4 separate regions of the Homo sapiens genome follow, and regions 2, 3 and 4 are each linked to region 1. Evidence: promoter capture Hi-C in human tissues and cell types (Jung and others, 2019). All regions are on one chromosome and are shown on one strand. The core of a region is centred on a gene start or on the middle of the fragment in contact, and the rest is flanking DNA. Distances in the headings are between cores, read along the strand shown. Region 1 holds the start of GRIK4 (glutamate ionotropic receptor kainate type subunit 4). Region 2 has its middle 15 kb from the start of TBCEL. Region 3 overlaps GRIK4 (glutamate ionotropic receptor kainate type subunit 4). Region 4 overlaps GRIK4 (glutamate ionotropic receptor kainate type subunit 4).

The links. The method cuts DNA at HindIII sites, captures the fragments that hold promoters and counts their contacts. A contact is called where the count stands out against the background at its distance.
Region 2: a fragment that was not itself captured here is called in contact with the fragment with the promoter of GRIK4 in region 1 in 3 of the 25 tissues and cell types used here (H1 embryonic stem cells, dorsolateral prefrontal cortex and liver).
Region 3: a fragment that was not itself captured here is called in contact with the fragment with the promoter of GRIK4 in region 1 in 2 of the 25 tissues and cell types used here (dorsolateral prefrontal cortex and lymphoblastoid cells).
Region 4: a fragment that was not itself captured here is called in contact with the fragment with the promoter of GRIK4 in region 1 in 1 of the 25 tissues and cell types used here (lymphoblastoid cells).

Annotation. Positions count from the first base shown.
Region 1 is chr11:120,509,086-120,515,571 of GRCh38, reverse strand. GRIK4 (glutamate ionotropic receptor kainate type subunit 4) reads right to left here and starts at 3,824. Exons shown (of 21, transcript NM_014619.5): 1 at 3,685-3,824. RefSeq lists silencers at 3,754-3,953, 4,134-4,213. The HindIII fragment of the contact is 7,551 bases long and covers 1-6,486 here.
Region 2 is chr11:121,005,964-121,012,449 of GRCh38, reverse strand. No RefSeq gene overlaps it. Among named protein-coding and RNA genes, the nearest start is that of TBCEL, 15 kb to the left of the region's middle. The HindIII fragment of the contact is 4,795 bases long and covers 1,372-6,166 here.
Region 3 is chr11:120,980,606-120,987,091 of GRCh38, reverse strand. It overlaps GRIK4 (glutamate ionotropic receptor kainate type subunit 4), which reads right to left. Exons shown (of 21, transcript NM_014619.5): 20 at 4,868-4,986; 21 at 1-1,188. The coding sequence ends at 832. Among named protein-coding and RNA genes, the nearest start is that of TBCEL, 40 kb to the left of the region's middle. RefSeq lists a silencer at 989-1,068. The HindIII fragment of the contact is 5,250 bases long and covers 1-4,954 here.
Region 4 is chr11:120,830,569-120,837,054 of GRCh38, reverse strand. GRIK4 (glutamate ionotropic receptor kainate type subunit 4) reads right to left here. Exons shown (of 21, transcript NM_014619.5): 7 at 5,025-5,203; 8 at 211-264. Among named protein-coding and RNA genes, the nearest start is that of TBCEL, 190 kb to the left of the region's middle. RefSeq lists an enhancer at 2,336-2,836. The HindIII fragment of the contact is 5,752 bases long and covers 946-6,486 here.

The DNA of each region.
Region 1 (6,486 bases), core at 2,575-5,074:
TTACCAATACCAGGTAGGAGCAGGGGGCTCAGCCAGCCCATACAGAGGGAGAGCAGAAGGCGGCCACTCAGAGAATGTGCCCTCCATACCCATGCAGGTGCCCTTCACACTGGACGAGTCACACTCCCACTCACATTCCATGCTGCTAACCCTCTGAAGCAGGTGAGATTTATCCCCATTTTACAGGTGAGGCCAGTGAGGCTCAGAGTCCCCATTTTACAGGTGAGGGCAGTGAGGCTCAGAGAGGTGAGGCAACTTGTCCGAGGTCATGCAGGGAGTGATGTGAGGACAGGAACCCAGGTCTGCCTGATACTTGGTAGCTGGAACTGGTTCCTCTTCCAGCAGCACCTTGAAGGCTGGGCAATATATGGATGGGAGGAAAAGAGGAGGAAATGCAAAGGGCCAGGGTGAGGACACACAGTGCCAGGGCTGGGTGGCCAGGGGAGGGGGGACAAGATCATGCCAGACACCACGTTGTGACATAAAGTTGGGGTCAGCGTGCAGAGGGCCTTCACCTGCAAGGCATCTTGGAAGGCACTGCCACTGACGGCTGCTGAGACAGGGTCCCCTGTGAGAAGCGTTACCCTCTGTAAGAAGACAGGCACAGCGGCAGGATGGCTGGAAACTGAGGCTGGAGGCCCAACAAGGAAGCTTTCAGGACCGTAACTCAGGGTGAACAGCCAAAGGCCCAAGTAGGGACCACGGCAGTGGGAGAGCAAAGGTCGGAGTGGACACTCGAAGTGCCCAGAAGAACTGAGTGGGCTGAGGCCTAAGGCACCAGAGAGAGGGAAGGAGGGTGCCCCAGGCACCCCGGCTGCATGCCTGGGGGAACCCAGCCGTTCTTTCCACAAGGAGGAGGCAAGAGGCAGTGCCCACTTGGGGTAGGGGGTGGTTGGTTGGGTCTAGGGAGTGGCGGGACACCCAGGCAGCCAGTCTAAGGCTGAGGAGACTACAGAGCAAAGACTCCACCAGGCCTGGGGTGGGGGTGAAAACGGTGAGCCATCACTGGAGAGGGCGAAGGGGATGAACTGAGGAACAGGCAGGACCAAGGGTGGGCTTTCTGAGAACCAAACAGCTGAGACCTTAAAAAGCAACAGCAACGAGCCCAACAGCACTGGACTGAGCGTCCAGGGGCCTGGGACCCAGCTGTGGAGCCTTGGATGAGGCATCCAGCCTCTCTGAGCCTCAGTTTCTGTTGGGTCATGAATGCCTCCTTATAAGGCTGTCTGTAAGGAGCGATCAGATGCTTGCAGGGCTGTAGTAGAGATCAAATGAAGTAATTGTTCTGAGAGGCATCTGGAATGCTGCAGAACCCCATACACACATAAGGGATTAGTACTATGCAGAAGCACCAAGAGATGCATCCTTCCCACACACGCTTGGCGCTGCCCACCCTCGCCAGCCACACAAAGGCCAGCTTCCGCCTCGCTGCTTCTCTTGCCTTCTGAGCAGTCTCTCCCCCAACCCAGGGCCGGTCCCCCTGTCCTCCCTTCCATCTCTGGATGGCTGAGAACCACCTCAGAAGCAGCTGAGCTCCTCTCTCCTGGATGCCCTGACTCCCTGCAGCTGGGACTTTCTCCTAGAGTCTCTGCCTCTCTCCCGGTACTAAAGTTCCCTCTCCATCCTAAGGGAAAACCAAAGTGGAAATCAGACCACGAAGCCGACCCAGGCTCTCGGAAGAATTTTCATTGCTGGGGAAGACAGCAGCCACCGATCAAGATGCCCAGGTAGGGGGATGGGAAAAACACAGAAAACCAAGATCCCCTCTCAACCTCCCCTCCCGAGCATCCACCTCTTCCCCACCCGGAGGGACCAGTGCTGCCTCTGGGTTTCAGGTGGCAGGTCCAGAGGAGGACAGAGGGGTGGAGCTGGTGAGGCAGGCGGGAGGCTGGTGGGCAAGCCCGGGCCACAAGGAATGAACAAAATATGGAAAATTAAACAAACCCAGACACTGTAATGTGTGCATATTAGATTAACTCTCCGAAGGGTCGTGACCTTGAGGAACACATCTGGCCAGTGAGAAAAATAATAAACCTGATTAATGATGAAGCCTGAGCTGCAGCTTCAGCAAATAAAGCCAGCATGATGACGCCCAGTGGAATTCCAGGGGCTGCCATCCCTGGTGGGACCGGAACACAGTGGACCTCGACAAGCCCCTCGCCCCTGACCACGCGAGCACAGACAGTCAGGGAGTCAGGCAGGACCGGATTTGTCTCTCAGATGCCCACTACCAACCCAGGCGGCCTCTCTCCCCGGAGATACCACGCCCGCAGTTTCCCGGTGCTCCTAGAAGTGTCACTACCAACCAGGTGACCCATAGGGAGTGAAAGTGAAGGTAGTTCTTTGTTCCTGGCAGGGCTCAGTCCTCCTGACCAGCCCTCAGACCTCTTGGCCTGGTCTTGACAGCTGCCCACTGCCTGGCAAAAGGGCCCAGCTGTGCTCAGAGCTCCCCTCCTCTTCCCAGACAACCCAGACCCTTGGGAGACATGCCCAGGAGAGCCACTGGAGGGAGGCAGGGAGGTGGCACCGCGTGGCATCACCAGACAACAGCACCAAGAGGAAGATGGCAGCATCAAGTACAGATGCCAAGAGCCACGCAGCCCAAGGTCCAGCCCGGGAGTGGCTCGGCCCGCATTGCCCCACCACTGCCAGGCAGACGGGCCAGAGGCGCCCGGGGCCCAGCCCCCTCGGCCGCCTCCTCCACCACCCCAAGGCCCTCAGCCAACTCTCCCCAGGCTCCAACTCCTCCCCTCACTTTGCTCAGCTCAAGGGAGCCAGGGAAAGAGACACAGGTGCTCTCAGTGCCTTGAACCCCCTGTCCCAGCTGTCGCCTGCACGCCCTCCACCCCAGCCAGGTCGGAGCGCACAGCTCTGCCAGTCCTCACTGAAGAGAATCTAAATCAGCTCCCCTCCCCCTCCGCCCCAGCCCCCTCCCCCATCACGCGCCCATTGCAGGTCTCTAGAGTTTCTCCCTCACTTCCCACTCGGATGAACTAGGGTGGGATGGGTGGGAGCCCCATTCTCCCCGGGAAAGAGGATCATTTCTGATAGGACGCTGGTTCCCCCAAGCAAGGCGGTGTGCAGGGTGGGGGGGTGTGGTGGTGGCCCGAGTCCAGTGCAGGGGCAGGGGGCAGTCGAGGCAGATGGCAGTGAGGAAAGGGGGAGGGGGCTTGGTGGGATGCCAGGCTGAGCCGGGATGGGGGGCTGCAGCCGGGGAACAGAGGCGCTGGGAGAAGCGGAGGGTGACGAGGTGTAGGGGAGACGCGCCAGGCTGGGAAGGGGCTGTCATCCCTGCAGGGGACAGAGGCAGGGCTGGGAGTTGCACGGGGAGGGGGAGGACCAGAGCGGGAGGACCGCGAGCCCGGGGAAGGGATGCGGAGGGAGGGAGACGGACCGGGGTGAAGACTGGAGGAACTACGGGAGCAGAGCGGTGGGGGGTTCGGCGGCGAATCTGGAGACGCAGGGACCGAAGTGCCAGGGACCGGGCTGGCGGGAGGCGGGAGCGGGGAGGAGGGCGCGGGGGCGGGGGCCGGGGCAGGGGTGCGGGGCCGCGGCCCCCGAGGGCAGGAGCGGCGGAGACGTCAGAAGTCGGGGTGCGGGAAGGGCCAGCGCGGAGGGGACTCGGGGGCGCGGGGGCAGCGCAGGGAGCGGGCCGGGGGCGCCGCGGGGGGCCGCTGCCCTTACCTGGTCGGCTCCGCACTCCGGGGGCTGAGCCGGGGGCCGGGCGCTGCCGGGCCGGCCGCGGGGCTGCTGTTGGCCGTTTTTCCTCTTCCGCAGCAGCCGTGGCGGCTCCAGCCCGATCCGCCCGCAGCTGAAGGCAGTCTGTGTCCGGCTGCGAGCGAGCCCGGCGCGGGGAGCGCGGGAGGAGCGCAGCGAGGCGCGGGGCGCCGCCCGGCGGGCAGCTGGGGAACTGCTGCGGCCCCGCGCACGGCCGGCCGGGGGGGCGCCCCTTCGGGGCCGGGCCGGAGCCCCGCGGGCAGCTGCACGCGCCCCCCAGCGCCCCTCGGAGCGTCGCCCGGGAGCCCAGGCGCGGGGGCGGCGGGGGCGGCGGGAACGGCGGGGGCTGCTGCGGGCAGGGCGGGCGCGGGTCCGCGCGGCCGGGGGCAAACTTGCGGCTGCCCGGGGGCCCGGGGCCGAGCGAGAGGCGCCCGGCTGGGGAGCGGCGCCCGGCAGAGGCTAGGGGCGCGCGGCCAAGCGGGCTCTGCGAGGTACGGACCTCAGGTGGGGAACCCGGCGCAGCCCGCACACTCCACCGCCCTGCGCAAAGGGGCAGCCCGCCCCGGCCCCGAGGAGTTATTAGCCCGGCGGCTTCAGCGAGCAAGGGGCGCCCCCTGGTGGCATTCGGGAAACAGCGCGGGGGACGAGCGTGCCCCGTTAGAAGAGACTGCGGCCTCAGTGGTGCGGAAGATGGAGAGGTGGAGGTTTCATGGGACGAGACAAGAGCACCTTGTTCAGGAGACTGAAGAGCAACAGCTTGCATGGAGTCATTCCAGAGCACTGTTGTATACATACCAACATCTTGGGAGGATCTCATGTTACGCATGAAGATCCTGAGGCTAGGAGAGGTGAAGGGACCAGGCCAAGAACACACGGGGAGCAAGTGGCAGGACCCAGGAGGCAACCCCGCTTTCTGACGCGCGGTTCATTTCAGTACACCGTGTGGTTCATCCTAATACAACAGAGTTGCCCTTAGGAGGAGGCTGGGTGAAGAGGGAGTCCTGGGGGAATAGGAGGGAGGGCAAGGGACACGTGACCCCCTCAAACCTATTAGCTCCCTCTTATCCAACCCGCAGAGTCTCTGTCTTGGGCAGACCACCAAACTGATCACACCGGCCCTCTCACCTTCAATGGCCTGTATCCCCACACCCAACCACCAGCACTCCCACAATCTCATTAAGCTCTCTGTGAAGGGTTTGTTCACAGACGTCCTTGGTCAGGTCTCACGCATGAGGCATACTATCGGGACTATAGACTGTTCTGGACGTTGCATTCCCCGGGGAGGGCTGGCTGGCTAGCCTGGGCGCGTACTGGGCCTCCTGCTTCAGGAGTCGTGCCTATCCCTCCCCCAGCTCCACACACTGGCTGGATGAATGCCATATGCGAACAGGGCTCCATTCCTCCAGCCAGACATTATTTAGCACCTACTGTTTGCCAAGACTATACCGCTTACACAAGTGTGATTCCCAATAATCAACTTTGCAAGGTAGGTGTTGAGGTGACACTAGTCCCATTTTACAGAGGATGTTAAACCTGTTAAGGTTTAAGAGCACCTGTAAGCCAGTGACACAAAACTAATTTCTAATTCCAACTCTATTCCCCCACTCTGGAACCCCCTCTCTTGTGCAAAATGGACGGAACAGCAGCATAAGCCTAGCAGAAAGTGTACGGGGCTGGGAGGAGGGAGAGGCATCCCTGTGATCCCAGCAAGCGATTTCACTTCCCTGGACTTCAGTTCCCATAACTCTAAAAGTGAGGGAAGCAGACTAGATGATCTCTCAAGCCGCGCAAACTCTGAAATGCCAAGCATGGATCCCTGGCCCCTTTCACGGGAAGAATGCAAGATCAGCGAGACCAGAGAGGCTTATTAAGTGTTTGGAAAGAAAAATACTATATAAGTGAAATGCTTCATCATATTCTTTTGCCTGGTGATCTCATCCTATTAACCAGGGAAGCGGGGAGGAGCTTTTGGCAGGTCAGAGAGATTGCTGATGGCTCTGGAGATAGTCTTGGCTGTGGCCTCCTGAGGGCCCTGGTTTCTCCCCTTCTTGCAAGAATGGTTCTGACTTTCTTTTCCTTTCTTAAGGCCTCTGCCCCTAGAAGCAGGGAGTCCCTACCAGTCACAGGGTGGACAACAATGTCAGCGAAGTCTGCCGGTACAGAAGTCTGCTGTTAGCCTCAGCCTGGTTGCCCCCACCCACTCTCCTGTCTCCCCTTGCTGCAAGATGTTGAGTTCTTTGGGATACTTACTACTTGCTCTCCACCTTTTTTACTACTGAAAAAATTCAATTCCAGGCAAGCTGACTTCTCAAGCTCAGCTCCAGGGGTGGGAAGGTCAGTCCAGATCTTTTTTGGAAGCCACAGGGGGAGAATGTCAGAGGGCCACGAGGCTGGCCCCGCTGATCTACTCTGAGGCTGCTGCCTTGAATGAAAAAACAGAAGGGTTGGGAAATGGGGCTCCCACCTCTAGAACCTCTCATCTGAAACATCCCTCACAGCCAGCTGCTATGCTGTGCAGGACGGATAGGATTCATTGTGCTTGGGCGCCATGGTGGTCGGAGCGCACAGGAAGGAGTTTGTTCTCTTGGATTTATCTTTAATTTCTTCCATCTATCTGCCTCTGGTATATCCACTAAGAAGAATATTTGATCTTAAATGTACCTGCCATGTCTTTTCCGAAGGTCCCTTTGAAGGTTCATCACACATTCATAATGATCCCTCTGCATAAATGGGGCCAGCTGAGGCACACGGTGAGCAGGTGACTTGTTG
Region 2 (6,486 bases), core at 2,520-5,019, 500 kb before region 1:
ATAGAAGTGGAATTGCTGTGTCAAATGGTAACTTTATGTTGAACCTTTTGAGGAACTGCCATTCAGTTTTCCACAGTGGCCACACCATTTTACATTCCTATTAGCAATGCAGCAGGATTGCAGTTTCTCTACACCTTAGCCAACACTCCTTTATAATAGCCATTGTAATGGATGTGAAATGGTATCTCATTGTGGTTTTGATTTGCATTTCCTCAATGACTAGTGATTTGAGCATCTTTACATGTGACCATCAGTATATCTTTGGAGAATGTCTCGTCAAGTCCTTTTCCCATTTTGTGATTGAGTTGTTTGTTTTTGTTGTAATTGCTGAATTGTAGGAGTTCTTTTTATATCCTGGATATCAATGCCTTCTAAGCATATGATTTGCAAATATTTTTTCCATTCTGTTGTGTTTTCACTCCCTTGATAGTGTTCCTTAATGCATAAAAGTTTTTAATTTTGATGTTGTTCACTTTACCTATTTTGTTGTTATTGTCTATGCTTTTGGTGTCAGATCTGAAAAATCACTGTCAAATTCAATGTCATGAAGCTTTTCTTCTATGTTTTCTTCTAATAATCTTATGGTTTTACCTCTTATGTTTAGGTTTGATTCATTTTGAATTAGTTTTTGTATAGGGTATAAAGTAAGGGTTCAACTTCATTATTTTACATGTGGATATCCAGTTTTTCCAGCACCATTTGTTGAAGACTACCCTCTCCCCATTGAATGGTCTTGGCACCCTTGTTGAAAATTAATTGACCATATATGCAAGGGTTTTTTTTCCAAGCTCTCTATTCTATTCTATTGGTCTTTGTCTGTCTTTATGCCACTACCATGTTGTTTTGGTTACTGTAGCTTTGTAACAAGTTTTCAAATTAGAAAGTGTGAGACCTCTAGCCTTGTTCTTCTTTTTCAAGATTGTTTTGGCTATTAAGGATCCCTTGAGATTCCATATTAATTTTAGGATGGATTTTTCTATTTCTACAAAAAAAGTCATCGGAATTTTATTCAATCTGTAGATCACTTTTCACAGTATAGACATCTTAACAATGTTAAGTGTTCCAATCCATGAACACAGAATAGCTTTTCATTTATTTGTGTCTTCTTTCATCTCTCTCAGTAACATTTTGTGTTTTTCAGTGTAAAAATATTTTGCCTCCCAGTTAAGTTTATTCCTAAGTATTTTATTCTTTCTGATATTATTATTATTATTATTATTATTATTATTTTGAGATGGAGTTTTGCTCAGTTGCCTAGGCTAGAGTGCAATGCCACAATCTCGGCTCACTGCAACCTCTGCCTCTCGGGTTCAAGCAATTCTCCTGCCTCAGTCTCCCAAGTAGCTAGGATTACAGGCGACTGTCATCATGCCCAGCTAATTTTTGTATTTTTAGTAGAGATGGGGTTTCACCATGTTGGCCAGGCTGGTCTTGAACCCCTGACTTCAGGTGATCCAACCACCTTGGCCTCCCAAAGTGCTGGGATTACAGGCGTGAGCCACTGCTCCCAGCCTCTTTTTGATATTATCATAAAGGAAATTATTTTCTTGATTTCACTTTCTGATTGTTCATTGTTAGTATATAGAAATGCAACTGATTTTTGCATCTTGATTTTGTGTCCTGAAATTTTGCTGAGTTTGTTTTTAGTTCTAAAAGTTTTGGGAGGAATTCTTTAGGGTTCTCTACATATGGGATCATGTCATCTGGAAACAGATAATTTTTACTTCTTCCTTTATAATTTGGATGCCCTTTTCTTTCTTCCTTTTTTAACCTAATAGCTCTGGTTAGTACTTCCAACTCTGTGTTAAATAAAAGTGGCAAAAGTGAGCATCCTTGTCTTGATTTTTTTTTTTTTTTTTTTAATGGAGTTTTGCTCTTTTTGCCCAGGCTGGAATGCTGGAATGCAATGGCTCGGTCTTGGCTCACTGCAACCTCCGCCTCCCAAATTCAAGTGATTCTCCTGCCTCAGCCTCCTGAGTAGCTGGGATTACAGGTATGCACCACCATGCCCATTTTACAAAAAAAAATTTTGTAAAAATACAAAAATTTTTGTATTTTTAGTAGATACAGGGTTTTGCCATGTTAGTCAGCCTGGTGTCAAACTCCTGACTTGGCTTCCCAAAGTGCTGGGATTACAGGCATGAGCCACCGCGCCCGGCCCCTTGTCTTGTTGTTAATCTTGGAAGAAAAGCTTTCAGTCTTTCACCATTGAATATGATATTAGCAGTGGATTTTTCACATATGGCCTTTATTATGTTGAGGTAGTTTCCTTCTATTCCTGTTTTTCTTTTTAAGTGTTTTATCATGGAAGGGTGTTGAATTTTGTCAGATTATTTTTCTGCATCAGTTTAGACAATGGTGTGTCTTTTTTCCTTTATTTTGTTAATGTGGTAGAATTACATTGATTTTTCATATTCTAACCCATCTTTGCCTTCTGGGGAAAAATTCACCTTGATCTTGGTGTATAATCGTTGTGATATACTTTAAATTAGGTTTGCTAACATTTTGTTGAGGGTTTTTGCATCAATATTTCTAAGGAATATTGGTTTGTGTTTTCTTGTAGTATCGTTGTCTAATTTTGGTATTAACATAAACTGGTCTCATAGAATGAGTTAGGCAGTATTCCTTCCTCTTCAATTTTTTAGAAGAGTTTGAGAAGGATTGGTGTAGTTCTTTAAATGTTTGGTAGAATTAAATGATTCCATCTGGTCTGGGGTTTTGTTTGTTGGGAAGTTTTTGATTATTAATTCAATCTCTTTTCTAATTATAGGTCTATTCAAAATTGTAATTTCTTCATGATTTAGTCTTGGTAGATTGTATGTTTCTATAACAGTGTCCATTTCATCTCACTTATCCACTTTGTTGGTATACAACTCTTCCTAATACTCTTTTATACAGATGTTTCTCAACTTATGATGGGGTGTCTTGTAGAGAGTATCATTGGATTCTGTTTTTTTAAAAAAAACCCTTCCACTAATCTATACTTTTTTAATTGGGAGGTTAATTCCTGATAGAAAAGGACTAACTTTTGCCATTTGTTATTTGTTTTCCATATGTCTTAAACTTTTTGTTTTTCATTACCTCCATTACCACCTTCTCTTCTATTTAGTTGCTTTTTGGTAGTGACATATTTTGATTCCCTTTTCACGTCCTTTTGTCTATAATCTATAGATGTCTATAATCTATAGATATTTTCTCTGTGGTTATAACTGGGATTACCTATAACATCCTAAAGTTATATAAATCTGTTTTAAATTGATACCAACCTAACTTCAATCACATACAAACCCTTTGCTCCTTTACAGCTCTGCCCTTATTGTTACTAATATAACAAATTACATCCCTATACCCATTAATATAGATTTATAATTATTTTTATGCATTTGTCTTTTAAATCCTGTAGAAAATAAAAAGTGAAGTTGCAACACAAGATTGCAGTAATACTGGCTTTTATATTTTCCCATGTATTTACCTTCACTGGAGATCTTTATATCTTCATACAGGTTTGAATTACCATCTAGCATTTTCTTACCTGAGTTTCTATTTGTTGTCTCCCATCACCCCAGGTTTTCCCTTACATGAACATCTCATGCATTTTCACATTCCTTGGGCCTTTGCTGGTGCTGTTCCCTCTTCTAGGCTTTCAACATCAGGAAGACCTGGGTTTCAGTCCCATATGGGCCACTTCATAGAAAAGTAATCAACATCTCTAATCCTTGCCAGAAAAATAGGGATAAAAATAGAACTTATTCATAGATTAAATGGCTAAAGTATGTAAAGTTCTTAGTGCTTGGCACATAGTTAAACATTAAATAAATGTTAGCTATTAAATTCTTTCTATCTTCTTAAGTGAGTTTCTATTGAACATCAAGACCTAAATGAAAGCTCTTGTCTTTAAATCTGAGAAGACACGATACGTCCATTTATCTGTGAAGACAGCCCCACCTACCAGACAAAATTGAATTGCTCCTTCCATTATGTTCCCAAATCCTTTATTCATTCTTCTATTATAGCTTTTATAAGTATCTTTTTTTATATGTGACCCCATTAGACCCAGAATTTGTCAAGGAGAAGGTTTAAGGCAAAGGCCTCACAAAAGAAAGAACGTCCTTGTCTCTTACATGTGTGTGTACATATGTATGTGTATGTGTATATATTTGATATATATGTACAGCAAATATTATAGTGGGGAAAAGGAAGTGAAGAATTGGTTATATGGCTATGGCAGGACAAGACTCAAGAATTTACAGAACCTGGGGCCCTGTCCATACACTCCCTTGCAAATATCCCCAATTCTAGTCCCCTCTTGTTGTTCTCTGTCCATCTTGCAGGGCAAGACCTGAGGTAAACCTAACTGTGCCAGTACCAGAGTTGCTGAACACTGTCAGGGAGAATCACACACCTGAGCTGACTGGCTGCTCTTTAACCTCATCTCCAACTGTAAACGGGTACTTGGTACTGCTTGCTCATCTTACTGATTTCCTTCACTCCTTAAGATGACTTTGTGTCTCCTCACTTTCCCGTGTCCCTCATCTTCCTGCTGAGCTCACTTCAGAGCACATTAGGAAAAATAAATGCCATCAGTGTGATGTACTTATCTTCTTCCTCCTTGCCGACCTGCACCCAGCCCCTTTCTCCTTCTGTTAAAATGAAGGGCCTGTCCCTTCACCTATCAAAGGCCAGTTCCACCATTTGTGTTTGGAGTTTTTCTTTCCACCGTTCGACTTCCCCCTTCTTTTCATGCGTTACCATCTCTTGTCTCTAGTAGATCATTGCCATCGCAGTGTCAGCATGCTCTAGTATTTCCCTTATTGACTTCACATGCTGTACCCTCTTCTCTACTGCTCTATTTTTATGCTCCCCTCTCAGCAAAATTCCTTTAAAATAGTCACTGCACATGTTAACTCTGCTTCCTCTCTCACCATTCACTCTTCAGTTTACTCCAATCTGGATTCTCTTTCTACCACTCTCCACTGAAACCATGCTTGCGAGGCTTGCCAATGGTTAGTTAGCTGTGTTCACTTTAAATTCATAGTAGCATTTGATTCACTTAGCCCCTCCCTTCTTTTTGGCCCTTATACATCACTTGCTTCTGGTTTTCCTCTTTCACACTGACTGCTCCTTTTTAGTTTTCCTCCTGTATCCTACTTCCAAATGTTAGAGTTGCTTAGGGTTCAGTTCTAAGGCTTCTTCTCTCTTTTCTTGCTCCAGTTTCTCCTTAGGTCATGTCATTTATTGCCCTAATTTAAATAACATCTTCATGTTGATAAATTCTAAATAAGGAGCCCAGACATCTCTGGGCCACCAGACTTGCATATCCAGACTTGCATATCCAACTGCCTATTAAATATTTCCACTTAGATAGCCCATATGCATCTCAAATTTAACATGCCCCAGCGAGAAATCTCAGTCCCCTCCCTTCCTCCTTTCCCAATCTAATCTTCCCTATTTTAGTAAACAGTATCACTTTCCACACCAGTTACTAAAGAATCCAGTAAGATGGAATCATTTTTGATTCTACCAAATGCTGTCTACCTCCAAAATATACTTATCTCTATCTCTATAGATACCTAGCTCAGATAGGCACTCTATAAATATGTCTTTAATGAAAAATAGGAAAAAGGTTAATAGTTTGTCCCCTTGAGAAACTCTGGAACAGGTTGCTGGGAGCCTTATTATATGAGAAGTTGGTATTCTTGTTGCCAGCAGGGTAAGAAGATAATGAAATTAAAGCACACTAAAAATAAGTGGGGAAAGATTTTCCCAGCTTCCGGAATGAGTAGAGAATTTACCTGGGAGGGAGATAAGAGTCAAGGTGCTCAGATCCTTTTGAGTCACCATAGTGTGGTGTGCAAGGGAGGAAAGCTTATACAGGTGTATTAGTCTGTCCTCATGCTGCTAATAAAAACATACCCAAGACTGGGTAGTTTATAAAGGAAAGAGGTTTAATTGACTTACAGTTCAGCATGGCTGGGGATGCCTCAGGAAACTTACAATTATGGTGGAAGGGGAAGCAAACATGTCCTTCTTCACATGATGGCAGGAAGGAGAAGTGCTGAGCAAAAGGGGAAAAGCCCCTTATAAAACCATCAGATCTCATGAGAACTCACTATCATAAGAACAGAAGCATGGGGGTAACCGTCCCCATGATTCAATTACTTCCCAACAGATCCCTCTCATGACACATGGGGATTATGGGAACTACAACTCAAGATGAGATTTGGGCGGGGACACAGCCAACCCATATCAACAGGTTAGGGATCAAACCCCTCCGGGCCATACCTTGGGAATTTTCTCCAACTCTCTTCACCCAAGAGTTTGTAATCTCAAAGAGTGAAGCAATACTTTGCAGAGTTCATTCAAAGGATCATAGTATCCTAAGAGGGGCAGCTCTGTAGTACCTGGAATGGGTAGCATGAGGGCCGACAGCAGTGCTGGCAAACAGTAGTACTAAAGCAGCAGAGAAGCTTTACAAGCTACTGACAT
Region 3 (6,486 bases), core at 1,080-3,579, 470 kb before region 1:
AAAGAAAAGACAGATTAACCCTTGACATTCCAGGCGTTTCAAGGTCTGAGTATAGGATGAGTTAATTGCTTTTTGGCATCTCAAAGTTTACTGCAATGGACTTTTGAGACTCTCCATCTGATTCTTCCCAAGACTCCTTCTCCTGTGCTCCTGCAGGCCCCTCAGTCACCATACAGAGAGTTAAGCACCTGAAATCGGATGCACTGGTAACGCAATATTCCAAAATTCAGGAAAAAGAAGAAATAGGGATTATTTAGGCTTCCATTCCCTAACCCAGCCTCCCCCTCCAAAAAACACAAAACAAATTAACAGGACTGAGAAGATGACAAAGAAGAAAAGGAGAGGAGGAAAGAAAAGGGAAAAGAACATTAACAAAAATATACAAATCCAGAAAAGAAAAACTTCCCTGTTTAATTTTTTTTTTTTCTGTAAGAACTAGACGGAGGGTACATTGGCCCCTGACTAGGGGGAAATTCAACTGATGATTCCACCAATTCATTGGACTGGTCTGGGTAGGGACCCCCCACCCTATACTCTTGTTATTTTGGCGAGAGGGAAAGACCCACTGGGAGAAGATGGGTCCTTGTGCCCAGGAGGGAGGGCCGTCCTTTGCCCTTTGGGTGCAACGTTTCCGGGTGGACCCTGCTCCCTGACCGGGCGCGGTCTCTGGCTGGGGCGTCAGGCTCCTTGATCTTTTTGAAAAGTGACTGGATCCGAAATCTGGAGAGGTGTCGACGCTGTACAAGTTCCGGCTGGCGGCTGACAGCAGCGCCCGCCCCGCCCCTCCCCTCCCGCCCCGCCCGGCCTCTGCGCGTCCTGTGGCCTCCGGGACTACTCGGGCTCGCTGCTGTTGGTGGTTTTCTCCCACTCCAGGCTCTCCTCGCTGCGGGCGGGCGACGGCCGTGCCCGCAGGCCCTGGAAGCGGCGGCACTCGGGGCAGACGCGGATGTGCGTGCAGCCGCGGGCCACCAGGGCGGCCTCCTGCGCCAGTCTCTGCGCGAGCTGGTCGGGCTCCCCTGCCCCGCACAGCTTCCCGTTGCTGAGCGTCGCCGTGCCCCGCGGTCGGCGCTCCTCGGGGATGGGGGGCCGGGGCGGCGGGACTGCGGCGCGCCGCCGGCGGGGGTGGATACTGTCCTGACACAGGATAATGCTGCGCAGCTCGGTCACCATCTCCTGGCAGACGGACACCTGGAGGAGACAGCGAGGTCAGGGCCCAGCCTCTCAACCAGCCCCCGTGGGCCCCCTGCGAGTCCGCTGGGATGAGGGATGAAGGGGGCAGCGGTCACAGAATCGTGTCATCTTAAGTATGAAGATGATAAAAGCCTTTCAGTCCATCTCCTCACTCCACTCCCATTTAATGTTCAAACACCCTCCATACCATAATATTCAAGAGCCCCACCAGCTGGTCTCCAATCTTTGTTTGAACACCTTCAAAGACAATGATCTCACTTTTTTTTTTTTTTTGCACATTTCCATTAAATGCTGCTTCCTTTTACCGAGCTAACAATTTCTGTCCCTGAAATTTTCATTCATTGATCCCAGCTAAGTTTGGACCTTGAAGCCTACTAAATAAATAATTCCTCCACCACATGTCAGTCTCTCAAGTATTTGAAAAGGCCACCATGTCTCTATGAACATTCTGTTCCTTAGGCTAAGGATTCTTATTTCTTTTAGCCAACTGGTTATAGCAGGAGGTGGATGTATCCTCATGATAACCAAAACAAGAGGAGGGTAATACAAAGCACAAACAGTAGAGTATGTATCACACCCGGTGGGTCTGGGGCAGACTTGAATTCAAACCCGCTCATATTTCTGTAGCAACATCTCACACCGTGTGAGATAAAGGCCACAAACATCAGCCAAGCCACGCCGCCGCTGAGTGCATTTGCATCAAACTTACAAGGAACTTGGAACTCTCCAAGCTTTTTAGGTGTCAGAACTGTGGATGAAGAATACAGGATAGGGCTGGGCACAGTGGCTCACACCTGTAATCCCAGCACTTTGGAGGGCCGAGGTAGGCAGATCACTTGAGGTCAGGAGTTCGGGACCAGCCTGGCCAACATGGTGAAACCCTGTCTCTACTAAAACCACAAAATTTAGCTGGGCGTGGTGGCGTGTGCCTGTAATCTCAGCTACTCGGGAGGCTGAGTGGGGAAAATCACGTAAACCTGGGAGGCGGAGGTTGCAGTGAGCCAAGATACCTGCCACTGCACTCCATTCCAGCTTGGGCGACAGACTGAGACTCTATCTCAAAAAAAAAAAAAAAAAAAAGAATATAGATGGGCCTGCATTTTTGTTTGTTTGTTTGTTTTTGGTTTTTTTTAGACAAGAGTCTTCCTCTGTCGCCCAGGCTGGAGTGCAGTGGCACAATCTCAGCTCACTGCAACCTCCACCTCCTGGGTTCAAGCGATTCTTCTGCCTCAGCCTCTCCAGTAAGCTGGGATTACAGGCACGTGCCATCACACCCGGCTAAATTTTGTATTTCTTGGTAGAGACGGGGTTTCACTATGTTGGCCAGGCTGGTCTTGAACTGCCGACCTCATGATTCACCTGCCTCGGCCTCCCAAAGTGCTAGGATTACAGGCGTGAGCCACTGTGCCTGGCCGATGGGCCTGTATTACTACTATTACTATTATTATTATATCCATTTCACAAATGTGGAAATGGAGGCTCAGAGAAGTTATGTATGTTGCCAAAAATTGACTAATAGCTGACTCTGAATTTGGACCTAAACCTATCAACTCCAAGCCTGTACATGCTCTGTTGAGTGCTCTACTCTGAGTTGAAAGGACACTTTCCTAGACCATATGGGAGCAGAAGTCCTCAGTTCTTTAATGTTCTTTCGTCCAATTCTACCAATGGCATAGTTGTTCTACCACAGCCAAATCGCTAACATAGCACTGACTCTTTATTTTAGCTATTGGGACTGCTCTAACTACTTGCTGAATTTTTCAATATACTTCCAGACCATGGGTGAGCTTTGGGGAGAATAACAAAATGTGAGGCAGCTACAGAAAGGTGATGTCACTTAATGGAATAAGGCCTACATTAGTTTTCCCGACTTGGATTATAGGCCCCCATCACACCCCCCAATTGTTAACTAAATAGCAGAGACTCTTGGCAAGTCACTTAACCTCTCTGTGCTTCTAGTGATAACTACAATAAAAACAGTACCACCTGCCTAATCTATTACATGTGACAATACTATAACAATGTAGATTTATTGACTGTCTACTGCATGTCAAGCACAGGGATAAAAGACACAGTCTTTACTTCAGGCAGCTCAATCTCTAGTAGGGGGCTGATACCAAAATAACTGCAGCGTGGTGTGTAAGTGGTTCATGCATAGGTTACACTGGTGTCAGGAAGAAGGAGGGTGACCAATTGCTGGGAGACAGCAGGAGAAATGAGGAAGGACTCACAAGGAAGGGAACACCTGAACTAGGTCTTAGGGAATAAATAAGACCACCACCTTTTAAGGGGTGGGCAAAAGGAAAAAGCCAGTAAAGCTGGAGACAGCAACAGGAGGGGAACCAAGAGAGCTGGGTGCCACGCAAGGCAAGGGAAGAGGGATTCTGAAAGAAAGTATCCCCATCATCAAGGGACACACCAAAGTCCAATAAGGCCCAGTAGATTCTCTTTGGTTTGGTCCACTGGGAGGGGTCAGACCTTTAAGCATCGGCCTTTCGGTGCAGGGGTAGGGAGGAGCCAGGCTGCCCTGGGTTTCGGACCAAATCGGGAGTGAGGTGATGGAGACTGAGATTCTCTCAGCTGGATCCCCTTGGTTTGGAAGAGGAGAGGGATAGAGCAAGAGCAACAGTAATCTTCCTATTATTTTGAAATATGGCAGACACGTTCACAATGGTGGACTGGAGAAAGAGCAGGCAGAAAAAAATACAGGGGCAAAAGAGGATAATCCTGGAGCAGCTGAGGAAAGACAGGATCAAGGAAGGGACAGCAGGAGGACTGGGGTATCTGCTGCAGCTGCAGGGTGGCTGAGCTGTGGGGAGATGTTTAGTGGGGGTTTTAATTCAGGGCTAGCCACTCCTGATTTCTTGGGAGATGGGAAGTAAAATGAAGCTCTACGCATGCAGAAGCAGAGGGGCTTGAGGAATGGGCAACGGCGTGGAAGTCCTACAAGGAGACAGGAAAGAGGCTGAGCACAGTGGACCAGGACTGGCAGGCGGTGTTGTGTTAAGGCCCCATGTGAGGCCAGACTCCACGGACTTCCAGGGGCACTGTTTGTCCTGCTGTGAGATATTTTCCCAGTGCCAATTAGGAAAGGTTTTTAGGAAGATTCAGAGTTGGGAGACTGAGATAGAGGCTAATGTAACTTTTAAAAAAAATCTAATAATGCAATTAACATGTAAGGATTTATATATCTTCCCTGGGGTGGGTTGGAAGAAGAGTGGCATAGTCTTCTTCCTTCTTTTCAAACTGTTCAACCTGGGTAAAGTTTATGTTAACCCTGTCTCTAAGCCACAGCTGGGGAATTGAACTTATTCAAAATCCCCGAGAAGGGGGATAAAATTCTTGGGTTCGCATGAGTCGGGATATCTCTAAGGATCTTTCCCTGCAAGGCAAAAACATACTCAGAATGAAAGGACTGAGGTTGTCTTTTCCATAGTAACCTGGTACTTTCACCTATTTTTCTCAACTATATCTTAAATGATAGTTCTAGAAGGCTTTGTTGTTCATAATAATTACTAAGTAATGAAGCATTGATCCAAATCCCCTCTGCTGGGCACTGGGATTCTCTTTGCTGCACTTCCTGTGGTAAGCGTCTGAAATAACCTTATATGTGCATGAGCCTGTGAACTTCACCCCATCTGCCAACACGATCGATCATACCCCTTTGAAAGTTTACCTCAGTTGCTTCTGAGTGTCTGAGAGTCCATAAAAACTCCAACATAGCCATAAAAATGGCCACGATTAAGCCACAAATAAGAACCACAAAGATTCCACCAATATTCTCCATTCCCAGGCCTGTAAGAAAGTGATAACAAATGAAAAATATTGTAAAAGATCAGGAAGACACAATCATTTTATCAAAAATACTAAAATCATTCAAACAAGAACTTGAGTATGGTAGATGCTCAAGTAGACACCCATGCATCTACTTGACATGTAGACACCCAGTCCTTGAAGATATTTAATTATTTATCTGGAAAAAATGCAGCATAGTTGAAATAAAATGGAAGAGAGAGATCTTGCCATCAATCAAGGACACTGGCAAGAAGCCTACCAAAGGGTGTCTGGGGCTGGGAGGTGAGGACCATTTAAGAAAAGGGCTCGGGCAAACTCTTGACAGCTTATAGAGAGAGACATGACACCAAAATACCTGTCAGTTCTAATAGTTTCATTAAAGTTTTACTCAATCTTCCTAACATTGTATTTATGTGATATAAAAGCAACTGTTTTGACCAAACCATGGATAGAAAAAGTTATATTTACCTATCTTTGTCAACATGTTACTAAAATATTTATTTGGAAAGTAAAACTTTTTATCCCACCAAACGAGTGGTTCACAAACCAGCTGCCATCAGAACTGCCTAGAAAGCTGACTAAAAATATTGATTCCCAGTCCTTACCCCAGACCTACTCAATCAGTATCTCTGGACATGGGGCCCAGGAATCTGTATTTTTACAGAAGTTTCACAGGTGATTCTTTTCTAGTCATTCCTAAAATTAGTTTACAAATTGGTAATTTTAGAAGCATTGTGCAAGTATGTAAGTTCCTGGGAGTCAGACATTGTTTCTGGTCATGTCCTCATTGCAAAGCATGATACCTGGCACACAGTATATAGTCAATAAATACTTATAGGATATGATATGGCTGTTTCATTTCCACTGTGTCAAACATTGAGTTCAGCTATGTAATTAAATGCTTTTTATTTTTGGCATTAGAGAAACCCAAACACAAAACACCCTGATTCAACTGGGGCCACAATCAGAAATCAAAAGGCATCTTTCATCCAGGAGGGTCTCTTGTGTCCCGTGTTTTTCAGGAATGCTTGCACATCTGAATGTTCAGTCAGTAATGTCCTCACAGAACATGGAGCCTCGTCAGTGTCGGGGCAGTCAGCTTCGCACGGCACTATGAGATGAGTCACAGGGCCAGATCAGAAATCGACGCTACCTTCTGCACCTTGGAAAGCTGGAAAAATAGCTCTATGGCCATTTCAGTATGCCCAGGGTTTCCTTTTACAAAGCCCTAAGTGGATGTCTGACTTTTGTTTTTAAAATAACACAGTGCAGTAGCTGTCCCTGCCTACAACTGAAAATCTGCTTGGAACGACTCTGAGGACTCACATGATGAACACACCAAATGAACTATACACTCTGATCTGCAGGACCACAGTCAACTCTTGAGTACCTGTGTGAATGTGGGAATCCTGTATTTTGAACAATCAAAAATAGGGGATCATTTAAAAACTCAATTCTACCTTCCAGGGGGAAGGTGCTTAAATGGGCAAAAAGCCCTTA
Region 4 (6,486 bases), core at 2,572-5,071, 320 kb before region 1:
AGGCATTAGATTCCCCAAATCCTCATTCTCCTGTGGCTCAGAATTATTGGGATGAGAATTTCCAGGACGCCCTGCCTCTCTGGTTGGCTTCTGCTCCTCTGCTTCTATCTCCTGTACTCGTCATCCCCTGGGCTTTTTCCCTTATAATCCATCAATCCTGACCACTGACAACACTCTCTTCCAAGGAGGTGAGCTGTGAGAACATCTTACCAGATTAGTGAAGATGTATGTGTAATAGGCTGACACCATCCCAAGTTCGGCTGCCTGCAAGGCGAAGAGAAGGAGATTAGAGAAGAAAACAAAAACTCACTTGAAGCAAATGAGCAGTAGGGGTTCCAAGTGTCTACCATTTGTCTGGCCCACTGCCCCTTGGCACCAGGCAGAACAGAACATCTTGATTAGTTCTTATGTTGCCCTTGATCTTAGAGGATGGAGCACAGAAATTCTGGTCTCAAGAGCGGGGTCTCTCCACCTCCGCCTGGCCCCCTACCCCTGCAGTGGCATGCGTAGTAGCTGGTGTTCTTGTACACAACATACTCCCATGGATATAGCCAGACATTACTGAAACCAAAATGACTTTTAGGGAAATGAAGCAAATAATAAAAAAGACTACAATAATGATCTCCACAGCTATTAACAATAACAATGGCTAACACTAACCCACTGTTTAGTATGTGTCAGGCACTCTCAAGCATTCTACATGGGATAACTCTATGAGGTTGGCGCTATTATTCCTCCCCAACCCCATTTTACAGCTGAGGAAACTGACACAACGAAAGGCTAAGTGACTTGCACAAGATCACATGTCTCATTAATGGAAAAGATAAAAGCAAATCCAGGCAGCCTAATTTCAGTGCTTTTATCCAAACTCTATACTCCCCCTTCAGGACTGTCACACTGATGGAACCACAAACACAACTCTCTTTGGGGCCCTGGCATAGATAAGAGAGTCCGTAGGTTGTAGCAATGCAAATCAACTCCACTCTGTCAGAGTGCAGGGCAGAGTCATAAGGGTATTCTTGAATCTGCAGTGACGTCGGAAACAAGTGACTCATTTGCAAACTTGGGTCCTTTATTTGTCGTAAGGAATCAGTTGCCTGTGGCATGCCTCACCCTTGATCACAGCGCATCAGTGTGGCATCACTCCACAGTTGAGAACTGCTACATCAGAAGAGTCTCCCTTTTGTCTGATCTTTGTACCCGTCATAAATACCCCTAGCCAACCTTCCCCGTCAGTGTGCCTGGCTTTGAGTGTGACAGGTACTATAGAAACTGACACGTAGATCAGGAAAATAATGAGCCCCGTTCTCTCTGGGGACCCTCATCCCTCCTGACAGTCGGCTAGATTTTCATAATGTATTCTGCAGCCCTGGGCCACTGGGAGACCCGTTTTGTCATGACTATTGAGGTGGATGGAGGAGAAACCAGACCAAGGATGATTACATTTTTCCTCTTACATAGTGTTCATCTCCCAAGGAACTCAAATAATTTTGTGAGCTTCTTTTTTTGTTTGTTTGTTTTTTCTTTGAGTCAGAGTCTCACTCTGTCACCCAGGCTGGAGTGCATTGGCGCGATCATGGCTCACTGCAACCTCCGCCTCCTGGGTTCAAGTGATTCTCCTGCCTCAGGCTGCCAGGTAGCTGAAATTACAGGCACCCACGACCACACCTGGCTAATTTTTGTATTTTTAGTAGAGATGGGATTTCGCCATATTGGCCAGGCTGGTCTTGAACTCTTGACCTCAAGTGATCTGCCTGCCTTGGCCTCCCAAAGTGCTGGGATTACAGGCGTGAGGCACCGCGCCTGTAATCTTATAGGATTCTTATAGGAACACTTGCAGGCTCCCTGAGGAGCAGGTCGGGGGTAACTCTATCATGGTTGTTCCAATGGGAAGCTGGAGGGCAAATGCTCAGTGACTGGGGCAGGAGTCTCAGGGCACAAGGGAGCTCAAAGCCTCTTTGGTGAGGCTCCTTCTTCCTCCAGGCCAAGCTATATTTCCTCCTTCACTTTCAAGAGGATGATGTGGCAAGATGACCAACCCATCCTACGCCCCACTGCACACACACAATCACACTGTCCAAGTAAGAGTGCTGCTGCATCTCACCCCTGCCTAGACGGATGCGACCCACGGAGCGAGCCCGCTGCTTACAGCGACAGGCTGGGGGCAGAGGGTCCGGGCGGGGTCACAGTGGGGAGCTAAAACCCGCTTTGTGAAATCTGCTGTCCTAGAGATAAAAGACAAGAGATCCTTGGTTTTTAAGGCCTGATTTCTGGGTAAACATGGAGTTCGTTGCTGGAACAGCCGCTCAATAAAATCAGGGATTGCTCTGCAAATCCTCCTGAAATCAAGAGATGGCAGAGTGTTGCCAAGCTCTAGGGGCTGGACTCCCACGTGCACACTGAGTCTCCCAGAGGCCCCGTGTGCTCCCTGCCCACTCTGCTTCCCATCCTTGCTGAGGCCCTGAGAGGCCCTGTTGTGCCCTCCTGGAGGGAAGAGTACGGAGCCCCAGGGAAGCATGAGGACAGAGGCCAGGCCTGATGGAACGCCTGCCTGCCTGGGCCATTGGGAAGGCAAATGGGCAAAGGGAACAGGCTTTCCTGAAGCCTTGCTGCTCATTGATCAGTGTGGCTCCAATGTCACAGGAGTTGGGGCTGACAGGTGAGCTCAGGAAAGACAGCCCTGAGGCATCGAGCAGAACCATTTGCTAATAATGATCACTACACTACAGGCAGAGCTTCCTTCAAAAGCATGGCCACACACACACACACACACACACACACACACACACACCTATAAAGTGTTTTTAATTAACATACCCAGTATTGGCAAGGGTGCTATAAGACACCTATATGCTGCTGGCGAAAGTGTAAACTGTTACAGCCTTTCTAAAATGCAATCTGGCAAATCATATCAGAATCCTTAAAAGCATGCGTACCTTTAACTCAGTAATTCCACTTCTAGAAATGTATGCTGGGGAAATATTCATGAATGTGTATAAAGATTTATGTACAAAGATGTGCACCTCAGCATTATTTATTGTAGCAAAAGATTTGAAACAACCTGTATCTCCAACAATAAAGTGATGGTTAAATAAATTATGGGAACTCTGTATGATAGGAAATGAGGCAGCCATTAAAATATTTCTAGAAAAATGTTTAATGACATGGGGAAAATGCACGGCATAGAATTAAGTGTGGACAAAAAGCGCTTACAGAAAAGTTTGTGCAGTATGACAATAATTTGGGGGAAAAATGTGTCTGTAAAGCAGAAAAAAACAGACATCAAAATTTAACAGTGGTTAAATAGCTCTGGGTGATAGGATTGTGAATAATTTTTAGTTTCTTCTATGTGCTTTCTGTTCTATATGTTCCAAAATTTCAACAATGAACTAGTAATGCTATTCGAATAAAAAAAATAATAGTGCAACATCAGATGCTGGGAGCTATGGAGGGCACAAGGCTGGCCCCCAGAAGCTTCTACCTGGGGGCTGTTCAGGCAGGCTCCAGCTACCACAGGGGGAACCTGTGTATTCTGAGCTACCTTCCACAAGGGTGGTGGAGGGACATCTATCTACTAAGCTGAAGCTCTCACTGCCTGCTCCCAACCTTCCCTAAAGAGGGCCCCTCTCCTCTCGTGAAACTTGGTGGAGCTTTTCTACCCTTAATGACTTCATTGATCATGGCTCCAGGCATAAGAGAAAACAGAGGAAAAGGAAGAAAAGAGAAAAATATTGTGTTTCCGTGTGTGTGTGTGTGTGTGTGTCAGAGAGAAAGAGAGAGAGAGAAAGAAAGAGAGAGAGATAATGTGAGTTGGGTATACGCACACAGACAGACATGGCTTTGGAGCTCTGGAAGATTACTATAGCAACGGGCTGAAGGGACAGCCCTCAGTACTGAGAGAACTCATTCAAATCTCTTATTAACTCTGAGTCAAAAACGAGCTGAGGAGGGGCAGCTGGGAGGGAGGGAGGGAAGGAGGGGAGACAATCATCTGAGTGTCTGCGGGCTCCTCACAGCTTGGCAGAGGTTAACGAGGAGCCTCGCTCCCCCAGTGGAAGACGGCAGGTTGTGCTTAAACGTGCAATTAAAATGGCATTAGAAGAGGCCAGTGCGCCTGGAGAGGTTGGGGGAGCCGCCAAGGAGCCTGGAAACGGGGCCCGTTCTCTCCGAAGTTCATGCCCAGCCCAGCCACCAGCCCAGGAACTGACGTCAGGTGACTCCGATGCTACCCAGCTATTTCCAGCAGTTTGTCCTGTGTGGGGCCCCTAGGCTCCCGACGTCTCTCTCTCTTGGATCAGCCTCACTCACAGAGTTCTGGTTTCCAGTGTGCATGTTCTGACTCAGGGGCTGGCACTGCCCCTCCAACTCCAGGAGCTTAGGAGACACTACCTGATTTGCAGATAAGAGAGGGTTGTGCAGGCTCAGCCCTGCTCCACTCAGGGCTGGGCCTTGGACGCATCTGTTCATCTCCCAGAGTCTCAGTTCCCTCTTCTGTGAGGGAAGACATTATACCTACCTCATGTCATTGCTGAGAGCTCTACGCTGGGAGATCGACTACACAGAAGTGCTGTGTAACTGTTGTGCACCGTGTCAGGACTAAAGACAGAGCTGGCATTCAGCAGTACACACTGGTGTGATGGTCCTGTTGTTAAACTACGGAACCATTTCTATACCATTTGGCAGACAGCCTCTGCCCAAGCCCCTTAGGTGCCCCACCCTAGCCCCTCCTAGGAACCCGCAGACCTCTCCACAGAGCCCTTAGCAGGGTCTAAGTTTGGCAGCATCTAGGTGTCTCCGTTGCCTACTGCCCTGCTGCCCCAGTGCTGAAAACGACATCACCCTCACCCTGCTTTCTTCTTTCATTTTTCGGGAACCGCTCATTGAAAACAGAAGCACAGAGAGAGGTTTGTAAGAGTTCAGGTCCAGCCCGGGGCTCCGTCAGCCTCAGCTCAGGAGGACCCTCAAGGCAAGGAGGGGGGAGGGTGGAGCTCAGCAGGGGGTGGGGGAGAGAGGGAGGCTCCCACCTTCAGGAGGATGGTGTGGGACATGGAGGCGTTGGCGTGGATGATGATGGTGGCGGTCTTGTCGTCCCGGATCTCCTTGAGGAGCGGGGTGGGGTCCCGGGTGTCATCCAGCATGCGGACGGACAGCGTGTCCTTGGAGATAAGGAATTGCCGGAGCAGCTTCTCTAGGTTTAAAAGGCCTGGAGGGGAGAGAGGATGAAGCCCCTGAGGGTCCACAGAGCTGCCTCTAGAGACACCTGGGCAGAAGCAGGAAGGCACGGAGATGTGGGCTGGAAGTGGGGTCGGGGGGTCTGGCCCCACTGACAGCATTAAGGAGACAGATCATAACCTGAGCAGGTTTCTCAGCCTCTTTGGGCTTCAATGATCCCATCTAAAATAAAAGAACACTTCTGAGTCCATCACCTCCCCTGACTCCCTCGAGAACGTTCTTTTAAGGTAGAGACGGAAGCTCCCTTGGGTGGAATAAGAGAATCCCCCCTCCTCCCCACCACCCTCGAAAGCCGGATAGGATGCACAGAGACCAAGACCTGGGTTCAGAGACCACCAGGCCTGAGTCTGCTTCCCTAATTCATGGACTTCTCCATGTGGCCAGTTGTCTTGGCCTCAGTTTCCTCAATTGAGAAGTTAGAATTATCACAGCAGCCAGCACTCAGGTCCAAGGCAAGGATTACAAGAGGCCACGTGTGAAGGGCTCAGGCCCGAGCCTCGGACACATTAAACCCTCACAAATGTTACACTGGGCTCTGTAAGAGCCTTTGTTTTCATTTTGGAGGTGGAGGAGCAATTCCCTTAAGATCCCAAGGCCCAGAAAACAGATCTAGTAAAACGCTTTGAACTCCTCAGAGCCTTGTGGCTGCATTAAGACAAAGTATTATGATGATCATAAGGGAACAGGCTTTGAACTGCACTCCAGCAGGCAAGAATCTGGGCCCAGAACAAAACAGAAAAAAGGGACTGTGCACCAAGGACCTACCCCTGCCCTCCCTCACTCCCTCCTCTCCCACCCACCAGCTATTTGATGCCTAGGGCCCTGGTGGGAGGAGGGGTTCCAGAATGATGTCACTGAGACATGAGGGTCTTAATTCTGCCTTGTCTTTGGAAAGGCATGCCAGCCAGCAGAGGGTATGTGTGTATGGGGTGGGGGAGGGAAATGTGGGGGGTGGGGGTGATGTGGGGGTGCAGGAGGCAGAGTGTGGTCTCAATTCCCATGGAAAAAGACATCACGTAGGCGTTTGCTCCCAAAAGCAATGATAAGGGCAACATTTATCAAATGCTTATTGTGTTCCAGTTAATGTGCGAAACATTTTACATGGCTTATCTCATGTAAGTCCTCACGACAATCCCATAAAGTATTATAATCCCCAGCACAGAGGAGAATCGGAGGTAGGAAGGACGAGCAACTGGCCTCACACACTGGGATGGCGAGGGAAAGGTTGGCTTTGTAACCAGTCCAAGGCCCCGT